Linked DNA regions of Homo sapiens: all the other regions are linked to region 3. Evidence: promoter capture Hi-C in 16 types of primary human blood cells and fetal thymus (Javierre and others, 2016). All regions are on one chromosome and are shown on one strand. The core of a region is centred on a gene start or on the middle of the fragment in contact, and the rest is flanking DNA. Distances in the headings are between cores, read along the strand shown.

Region 1 (2,998 bases), core at 112-2,611, 780 kb after region 3:
GATGCAGTAATTCAAGATGGAATATATACTTCTCGTATGGAAGTATATAATACATATGTAGAATGGAACACAGCACACAGAGGTGTATTCCAAAGAGAGAAAGATTATATAGCAGCATTTATAGGATATAAAAAGAATTCAGGAAAACTTTAATAAAATAAAGGCACTTGAGTTTAACCACAAAAAGATAAATAAGAAGAGAAAGGCATCACAGAAAGAACAGACCTTCCTCACCCATGCCCTAACCTCCTAGTACTCTGTACCCCTTTTGCTGAATTTATCACAGCCTGACTTGAAATACAAATAACTAGGGCAAGGACATAGACACACACAAGTCCAGGACTAGACCACCTTACATGTGGTAGATGCTGAACAAAAGCTTACCAAAGTAGATGAACAAAGTCAAAGAGGCATAAAAGTGAAGAGGATGTGTGGGGAACAGCAAGAAAACTGATATAGGTACATGTGGTATACATGAGAGAATAGCAACAAAGATAGAAAGGTTGGAGTTACAGTATGCAATACAGATAGGAATGGAGGCTAAAGAATAGGCTAAAGAATTTTAATTTTTTTTTTTTTTTAGGAAATTTAAGTCAGTCCTCAAAAATTCATCTTCATATTCTCAAAGTCCCTACTGTTACCTAAGGCAGCCAGCTGTGTTGGTGAGCACCGATTCCCACTCAATGTGGCGTGGCTTACAGTCTTCATTAGGTTCCCGCTCCCAACCAGAATGAGGAATGATCACTTCATCTGTCAAGGCATGCAGTGCATGGTCCACAATCTCCATTTTGATTGAGTCATGGGATGAAAGATTCCACAGGGTTCCTGGAAGAGACAATTCATCAGATGGCTCTTGAGCATTCAAGACAATATGTCTGAAGAACGTCAAAGAGAATCCCCCTATCGTATCACTTCTCAGTCTTCCCCAGTGACCAAATACCTTATAGTAATATTCAAGCTTTGTTTGCGACCCTCACCAAGAAACATATTCTACATTATAGCTCAAAATAAACATACAGATCATGAAACAAACAATGTTTAACTATAAGCAACGCTCAGGCTGGGTGTGGTGGCTCACGCCTGTAATCCCAGCAATTTGGGAGGCCAAGGCGGGCGGATCACAAGGTTGGGAGATCAAGACCATCCTGGCTAACACTAAAAATACAAAAAATTAGCCGGGCGTGGTGGCGGGCACCTGTAGTCCCAGCTACTTGGGAGGCTGAGGCAGGAGAATGGCGTGAACCCATGAGGCGGAGCTTGCGGTGAGCTGAGATTGTGCCACTGCACTCCAGCCTGGGTGACAGAGCGAGACTCCATCTCAAAAAAAACAAACAAAACTATAAGCAATGCTCAATGCTCTCCGATCTGTCTATACCAGAGTTTTTCAACCTCAGCACCACTGACATTTTCGGCCAGATGATTCTTTGTTATGAGGAGCTGTCTTGTCTATTGTTGGATGTTTACCAGTACCCCTGGCCTTTACTCACTAGATGCCAGTAGCACTCCCTCTCCCCTGTTCCAAGTTATAACAACCAAAAATATCTCCAACACTGCAAATGTCCAAATGTCCTCAGGGCAGGGCAGGCAAAATGGCCCACAACTGAGAAACAATGGTCTATACTACTTTTTCTTTATTCCTTTCCCTTGGAATGCTGATTATGCTCCACAAAATTTTGTTTTATTCACTAACGGATCACACAAATAGATCACAACCCACAATCTGAAAAACTACTGCTCTAAATAAAGCAAGAACCACAAGCTTAAATGTCTATATGGGTCAAGCCGGTGAGTCAAGAGAGGAAGATAATTAAAAGAAATTACAAGCATGTGAAAAAATAGCAGTTGACAGCTCCATGTTTGGGAAACAACTTCCTAAACAGCTGTAGTTGGTCAGATAATAGAATGTGTTGGAGATTAGTGTAAATTAGAGAGCACATGCTCCAATCAGTTCAGACCAAATACTGCTAAGGAAGAAAAGAGATCCATTGTTAACAACTCTTCCACGTTTTTAATAGAAGCCAAGAATCTGGAATTTTAAGTGAAATCTTCTGAATTTTAAACATCAGCAACCAGTTCTTTAAAATTTCAATAATGCTGTGTGATCCAAACAAATCTGTGAGATGGATTTGACCCACAGCCACCAGTTCACAACCTTTCATCAAAAGTAAAAGGTCTGGAAATCCCTCTAGTTCTCAACATCACTAGAGAGTAACACTGACTTAGCAATTTTCCTTAGGCCTAGAACTCACCGGTAATAACTTCAGTAAGGTCCATATCACGAGCCTTTCGAAGCAATCGCACAAGGGCAGGCACACCATCACAGTTTTTTATGGCAATCTTGTTATCCTGGTCACGTCCAAAAGAGATATTCTTGAGAGCTCCACAGGCTCCAAGGTGCACTTCCTTTTTGGGATGGTCTAACAATCCCACCAGTACTGGGATGCCCTTGAGCTTCCGCACGTCAGTCTTCACCTTGTCATTGCGGTAGCATAAGTGTTGCAGGTATGCAGCTGCATTGGACTTGACAGCATCCAAGCGGAATCCAAGCATGGCGATCACCTCTGGCAGCTCTGGCTGTCTCCAATTAGGAGGTGGAGGCCCTCCTTTGCGCAGGCTATCCAAGCTTGCTAAACTTCCTCGCTCATGCTGGGCCAAAGGAGCCCAGTAGTATTGATCCGATGGCACCTCCTCACCAATCATGTCTTCATAGCTCCTGAGAAGTTTTGGAAGAACCAAGAGAATACATCAAGTCATTATGGCTAGCTTCCTGGACATTCCCATTACCCTCATCTGCAAAGGAGGATTAACTGGAGTTTCAGTGTGCTCATCTTATCTCTCCTTTGCATGAATAATATACTGATCAATTTTCCTCAATGGGTTAGTAAAAATAAAAGGTAATAATTTTAAAAACACCTGCAATTTAATTAAAACTACATTTTTTTCTTTGAAGTCTGCAGGCTTAGAAAGTAACAAGCATTCAGGAAAGGCTAATCAAAAA
Region 2 (2,829 bases), core at 169-2,668, 900 kb after region 3:
CTACTACTAAAAAATCTGTAAATCCAGCCTTGAATTCAAGTTCTCATCTGGTTTATTTCCACAGCCTCCCAAAAGGTAGCTGTAATTCTTACACGAATTATTTTTCTAAAAGGAATTCTGATGTTGAGTCCTCCAATTAAAGACCTCTTCCTATCCAAAGGAAAATGTATGATCTATTTAACTTAGTATGTAAAGTCCTTGACAATTTGGCTCTGGGTTTACCTCCCATCCCTCTGGTCACACCATGCATAACATCCTCTAGCCCCACTAAGTTTGCCATTTCATGGCTACAAGCTTCTGCATGTGCTGTTTCCTCTGCCTAAAAATGCCCTTCCCTCCTATATTCTACTTGGTAAAGTCTTTCCCACCTATTTTCAGCAGCATTTCCCCAATTTATTTGGGCAAAATATGTTCTCATATTTCTTTGTTCTCAATTGTTTGTATTCTCACAGAACCTTGCTCTTGCCTCCATTATAGTCTGCATCACACTGTCATAACTGTCTTAATTCACTGTGGGTATTACTGTACCTAAAAATAGCATCCAACCCATATGCTTTAAATAAATTTCTGCTGAACAAATCACTAAAACTCAAAGATTTGACCCAAAGTGAATCATAGGACTAGAAGTTATGACATATATTCCTAAAGACCCTGACCTGATTTTCATCATCAGAAAATGATAAAAGTATCCCAAAATCCCCGGACTTTAAGGCCCAAGATCAACTGCGTATGCCCAAATCATTATTTTTCATATCCCAAAATCCCAGGACTCTTAAGGCCCAAGATCAACTGTGTATGGCCAACTCATTATTTTTCAAAGGCAGTGTAAGGTGCTTCTAAGAGAGAAGCAGATCTTACCTCGAGGGAAAATCCCTGGGTCCATGAAGGTGGCCATGCTGAAGTTGGCCAACACAAAGAGAAACATAATTGCATTGTAGATGGGCACTGCAGGTGACACATACAGGCTTAGTCCTGGACACCTGCACAGACAATAAAGAAAATGAGGGGTTGCCTCTAATATTTTGGACACGAACCATACATACAAAAATCTGTAAAGACTTAGCCCCTTACCTATAGATAAATCTTGTGTGGTTTACCTTTGCCATCCCAAATTATTATCTTTATCTTTCCCACTAAGTGAGTCTAGTTTCCTATGGGAACTGCTCACTTTAGATAAAAGTACAAGACTCAGAATCTCTCCCATCTTAACCTGTTGCACTAAGGTCTTTGTGCTTCAGATTCATTCCTACCCTGTGGATCTTGCCACATGTTTTGAGATCTGTCCTTATCTCCTTTCTAACCAGACATGAGAACCAGGTACTGACTATGATATCAGCTACACTCCCTTCTCTGGAGCAGCCTGAGGTTTCTGGATCCCAGCTATGTCCCATTGACCTGCACATTGGCCCAAAGCATGGGATACCACCTACCTTTCTAGCCCCCGCCTCCCCCTTGCCAGGGGACTGAACCACATAAGTGCCTAAAGTATCTCCATTGCATTGGATATGCCTGAGAGTTTACTCAACTACAGGCCAGTTCTTAAGGTTGGGAAATTCTTTTAAAACACACAGATGAGAATGGATATCAAGACACAGAAGTAAACCCTTTGATGTCTAAAAATGAAGCAGGAATGGGGGAGGATAGAGACTATCAGACCAAAGAAGCCCTCAATTTTGTAGGAAAAAGAAACTACCCAAACATACCCAGTATTCCACAGCAGTCAACTCAAGATATGCTTTAAGGTAACTTTTCTTGATCAAAAAAACAATTCTCTAGTCCAGAATTAAACTCAGTTTCTTTCAGGATTTGAATCTACGTAGGAATGCTTCAAGAGCTCTTCCTTTCTCTGCTGATTTCCTGGGAGCTGGAAGTTTTGGAAGAACCTGATGTGCTACTTTTTTGTCAGTAGTATCAAACACTCTCGTCTCAGCTCAGGGAGAAGTTCCCACTACCAAGACAGTGGATAAATACTCTAATCTACTTTGTGGCTGAGAACTTAATCTCCAGAATGAGGACAGCATCTGTCCTTGTCCCCTTTATCTGAACCAGTCAAAGCAAAGGAAGAACTCACTGAAGGAAAGGAAGAAGAGGACAGGAGAACAAGACAGCATATGATTCCAGAGAATTAAACCACAGCAGTCTGGGATTCTGTGAAGAAAAGGTATCTGCACCCACCAAAACAAAAAGCACAGCCCTGAGACTGACTCAGAGCAGTTTGGAGGAACTCAGTTCCTTAACGAGATACAAGCAAATCAAGATAAGAGACAAAACTGTCACAAAGCATCTCACAAATCTTTACCACCACCATCTATTTATTCAAATTCCATTCAGCCATTCATTTTGAAAAGTTTTTAGTATTTATTATATGCCAGGCTTTTTAGATAGTAAATATCCATTAGCTGTTTGGTTCTCTTGATATGTCAGTACACAATTAGCAGACAAAATAACGAAGCTGGAGCAAGGGCATCAATTTTAGGGACTAAACAGACCTTCAGTCATAGTTCTATACTATCCTCAAAGAAAGCCCCCCATGGAAGCTTCTTCCTCTGTGAGTTCTTTGGTTCAGAAAAGATGTCTCCATACATTGGCAGGGTTTGGAGTGGAATATAAGCAAAAAGAAGAGTTCCTGCACCGCCTCACCCCAAAGCCTGACCTCCTAGGTTCCTTAAGAAGGAGGGAGAGAAACTGAAAACCAGTCATCCAGGTCAGAGCCCCTCCCTAGTACTAAGTTGTCACTTCAATTTCCGCCTGGGGAAGAAGAGAAAGGGTGACTCACTTGACTCCTACAGCCTGGGAAGATAATTAGAAGGGAAAAAGAAATTAAATCCT
Region 3 (2,901 bases), core at 305-2,804:
AACCTTGCCACTATCTCTACTGGAAGAAAGGGAACACTTAAAACTGACTCCCCCTCACTTCAATTTTCTCTGTTTTTACTAATCTGTTTTCACTCAAAAATCAAAGGTCACTAATGATGTTTTCAGTCATGAATTGAATAGTCAATGTGATTAATTTCTAGAATTTACAAACTTGTGTGCTTCAGTATTCTTAACATGAGTATTATTTTAACGAACAATTTAAGACAATGCTCCTGGCCACCTGTTCATGTTTCCTCTATTACGTCTAGGTAATAAAGGAATTCCTCTCAGATGATTCTAATTTCAAGGATGAAGTTCCTACATTTAAAAACACGAAACACAAAGATAAAACATATGCTACTTAGTAAAAACAAACATTAAAGAATGCTCATATAATTTTATATGAAAGACTCCATACTTAAAATCGTAGCAGTGGGCTTTTAACCTGACCATAATAAGTGGCAAATTTCTCAAAAGAATGAGAAGGGTTGCGAAAAATTTAGAAAAGTGAAAAAAAAAAAAAGCTACATAAACACACTAGTACATCTGGCTCTTGAGCTAACGCGAAGGCGGGGGGGAATCATTTTTGAAGGCTATGATCGGGCTGTGTATTCCCTAAAGGGCATGTGATGTAATACTGGAGAGCCGCCTAAAGGAAAGGGATAGGGTGACAAAGGGGGTGCGGATGCCAGAAAGAGGGATGAGCCTGCGGGTGTCAGGGAGGAGGTGGATCACTAGCGAGTGCAGGGGTGTATCAAAAGATGATTTCGGGGAGTGGGGAAACGGCCCGACAAGCGAAGGTACAGGAGCGAGATGAGGGTGGCGCAGAGAGGAGGCACGAAGGCTCCCGGGGAAACGGTGTGACATCTGGCGTGCGGAGCCGGCAGGGGGCAGACCAGGCAGGATGTCACGTGGAGTAGGCGCTACGGGAGCCGAGAGGGTTGCGTACGGACAGAGGGGGGTCTTTCCCACCGCCTGAAAGACTGTTACTCACAGGAGTCGCGGACTCTTCTTGCCCTGAACTGGAGACGGGGACTTCGCGGCCTGGGGCTGCTGCCCGGGGACGTCGGGAGGCCTGGCGCTGGGGCTGCTCCTCCGCCGGCGGGGATACTCGGCCTTCCTCCGGCGGGACACAGCTGCGGCGGCGGCGGCCGCAGCGGCCCGGCCTCGGTCCCGACCTCCCCTCAGCACGCGGCTGCTAGTGGTCCCTGCAGGCGCCGCCGCGACCGCCTCAGGGGGCCGTTGTTGGGGCTCCTCCGGAGCCGCCTTGGCCGCCTCTCCCCCTTCCTGGTCCTGCTGCTCCGGGGGTCTCGGCTCTTCCGTCTCCCCCGGCATCGGGGCTTGTCCGTCCCCCACCCCCTAGTCCTAGGCGGCGGAGGCGGAGGCGGCGGCCTCGGCGCTGCTCCCCCCGCCCCCTCGCCTCCCGAAGCCTGCGGCTCACTCTCACCCTGCGCTCCTCTTTCCCCCCTCCCCTCCGCCCGGCTCCGAGGGCGCCCCCCCCACCCCCTGCCACTCAAGGTCCGCTACCGCTGGCGGCGCGCGCGCGCGCGCCACAGACGCTCAGCGGGCCAATCGGAAAAGAGGACAAGCCTCCTCACCCCGCCCCTCGCAGTCTTACACGCAGCGGCGCCCCAGGTTCCCTCCCCCACCCCTTCCTTCAGCCAATCAGGAAACGGCTAAAAGGGGAGCGCGCGAGGTTTCCTTCCCCGCGCACCCGTTCTCACCGTTAAACGGCTGTGTCTCGCGACAATCCCAAAGTGACCTTTTTCCCCCCTCCAGACTTCAACGCGCGCTAGGGGCAGTGCGAGGGGCAGGTCTCGCGAGGGAGGCGGGTGAGAAGAAATCGCACCTCTTTCCCCGCCTCACGCAAACCCTAGACTGGCTGCGCGCGCACCTGCCTCCCTGAGGAGCCACTGATACCACAAGGGCTCTTTCTATTCTTCTTTAGGCCGCAGAAGTAGCCTGGGCGTTCTTCCGCCTCCACCCTACCCCACTTTCCTGTCTTTGGCCTTTCTGTCCCCAGCGCCGCCAGATCTTGCGCGGAGAAGGGGGTAGTATTTTGAGCTGTCGCTTCTCCTTTAAGAAAAAAAGCCCCGTCGGTTGCCGGATGAAAGTCTCTGAAAAAATGGCGGCGGCAAAACGGAGGCGGGGTTGTGGGGGCAACGAGGGCCCGCCTCTTGGCGCATGCGCACCGTTAACTTAACCAAGGGCATTCTGGGAGATGAAGTCTTATTTCGCCTAGGCTTTAGGAAAAATAGATGGGAAACCAGAGGTGGAGAGGATGCCGGGAGGTTCTAACTGAGTCACGACGGGAAAGGTAGTTTACTTTCCGCAGTCTAGAGTTTACCTTTTTTTCGGGAGGCAGTGTTTCCGGGTTAGGTCGCGACGCGTGCCGTACATCCGGGCTCAAGCGTCGAGCCAATTGCTGGTCTGATGGGAGGGTTTTTCCTACTTTTTCTTACTTTTTATCTGGGCGTTGGCGTACCTTTCTCGGGGTGTCTGCGTAACTGCCCAGACTTGCCTTGGTTTGGTCAGATGACACCTCCTCTGGGACTGGCTAGCCAGCGTTCATGTCTACATTATTGATCTCGTCTTCCGGTGTGTGAGTCACTCACCTGTGAGCTCCTAGAGGTCAGCGACTAAATCTGGTTCCATGGGGTCCTTGGGCCCTCGGAGCCCTAGCACAAGGCCCACTACTCAGTTGGCTCTTAATCAAATCTGTGAAACGAATTATAAAGTTGCTTTTCTACTAGACCTTGTTGGGACACCAAGGAGCCGGCGTCGGTTGCTTAACTTGGATGCGGTGCCTGACCTAGAGGGAGGCGAAAGGGTTGTGAGCGTGACATGACTGGTGACCTACACCGAGAAGCTGAAGGGTCTCTTAAGCTCTGCGGCCGGAAG

The links. The method cuts DNA at HindIII sites, captures the fragments that hold promoters and counts their contacts. A CHiCAGO score of 5 or more calls a contact.
Region 1: a fragment that was not itself captured here is called in contact with the fragment with the promoter of ZFP91 in region 3 in 1 of 17 cell types (non-activated CD4 T cells); the score reaches 5.6 in non-activated CD4 T cells.
Region 2: a contact is called between a fragment that was not itself captured here and the fragment with the promoter of ZFP91 in region 3, in 2 of 17 cell types (naive CD8 T cells and total CD8 T cells). The highest score is 6.2, in naive CD8 T cells.

Annotation. Positions count from the first base shown.
Region 1 is chr11:57,801,448-57,804,445 of GRCh38, reverse strand. CTNND1 (catenin delta 1) reads right to left here. Exons shown (of 21, transcript NM_001085458.2): 7 at 2,250-2,713; 8 at 642-825. TMX2-CTNND1 (TMX2-CTNND1 readthrough (NMD candidate)) reads right to left here. Exons shown (of 21, transcript NR_037646.1): 8 at 2,250-2,713; 9 at 642-825. Among named protein-coding and RNA genes, the nearest start is that of CTNND1, 41 kb to the right of the region's middle. The HindIII fragment of the contact is 801 bases long and covers 961-1,761 here.
Region 2 is chr11:57,680,573-57,683,401 of GRCh38, reverse strand. ZDHHC5 (zDHHC palmitoyltransferase 5) reads right to left here. Exons shown (of 12, transcript NM_015457.3): 3 at 859-980. Among named protein-coding and RNA genes, the nearest start is that of ZDHHC5, 14 kb to the right of the region's middle. The HindIII fragment of the contact is 2,243 bases long and covers 297-2,539 here.
Region 3 is chr11:58,577,716-58,580,616 of GRCh38, reverse strand. ZFP91 (ZFP91 zinc finger protein, atypical E3 ubiquitin ligase) reads right to left here and starts at 1,554. Exons shown (of 11, transcript NM_053023.5): 1 at 995-1,554. The coding sequence starts at 1,335. ZFP91-CNTF (ZFP91-CNTF readthrough (NMD candidate)) reads right to left here and starts at 1,503. Exons shown (of 13, transcript NR_024091.1): 1 at 995-1,503. It also overlaps a transcript of LPXN not described here. RefSeq lists enhancers at 485-1,176, 1,921-2,150, 1,870-2,562, 2,181-2,700, 2,721-2,800 and a silencer at 1,081-1,500. The HindIII fragment of the contact is 10,569 bases long and covers 1-2,901 here.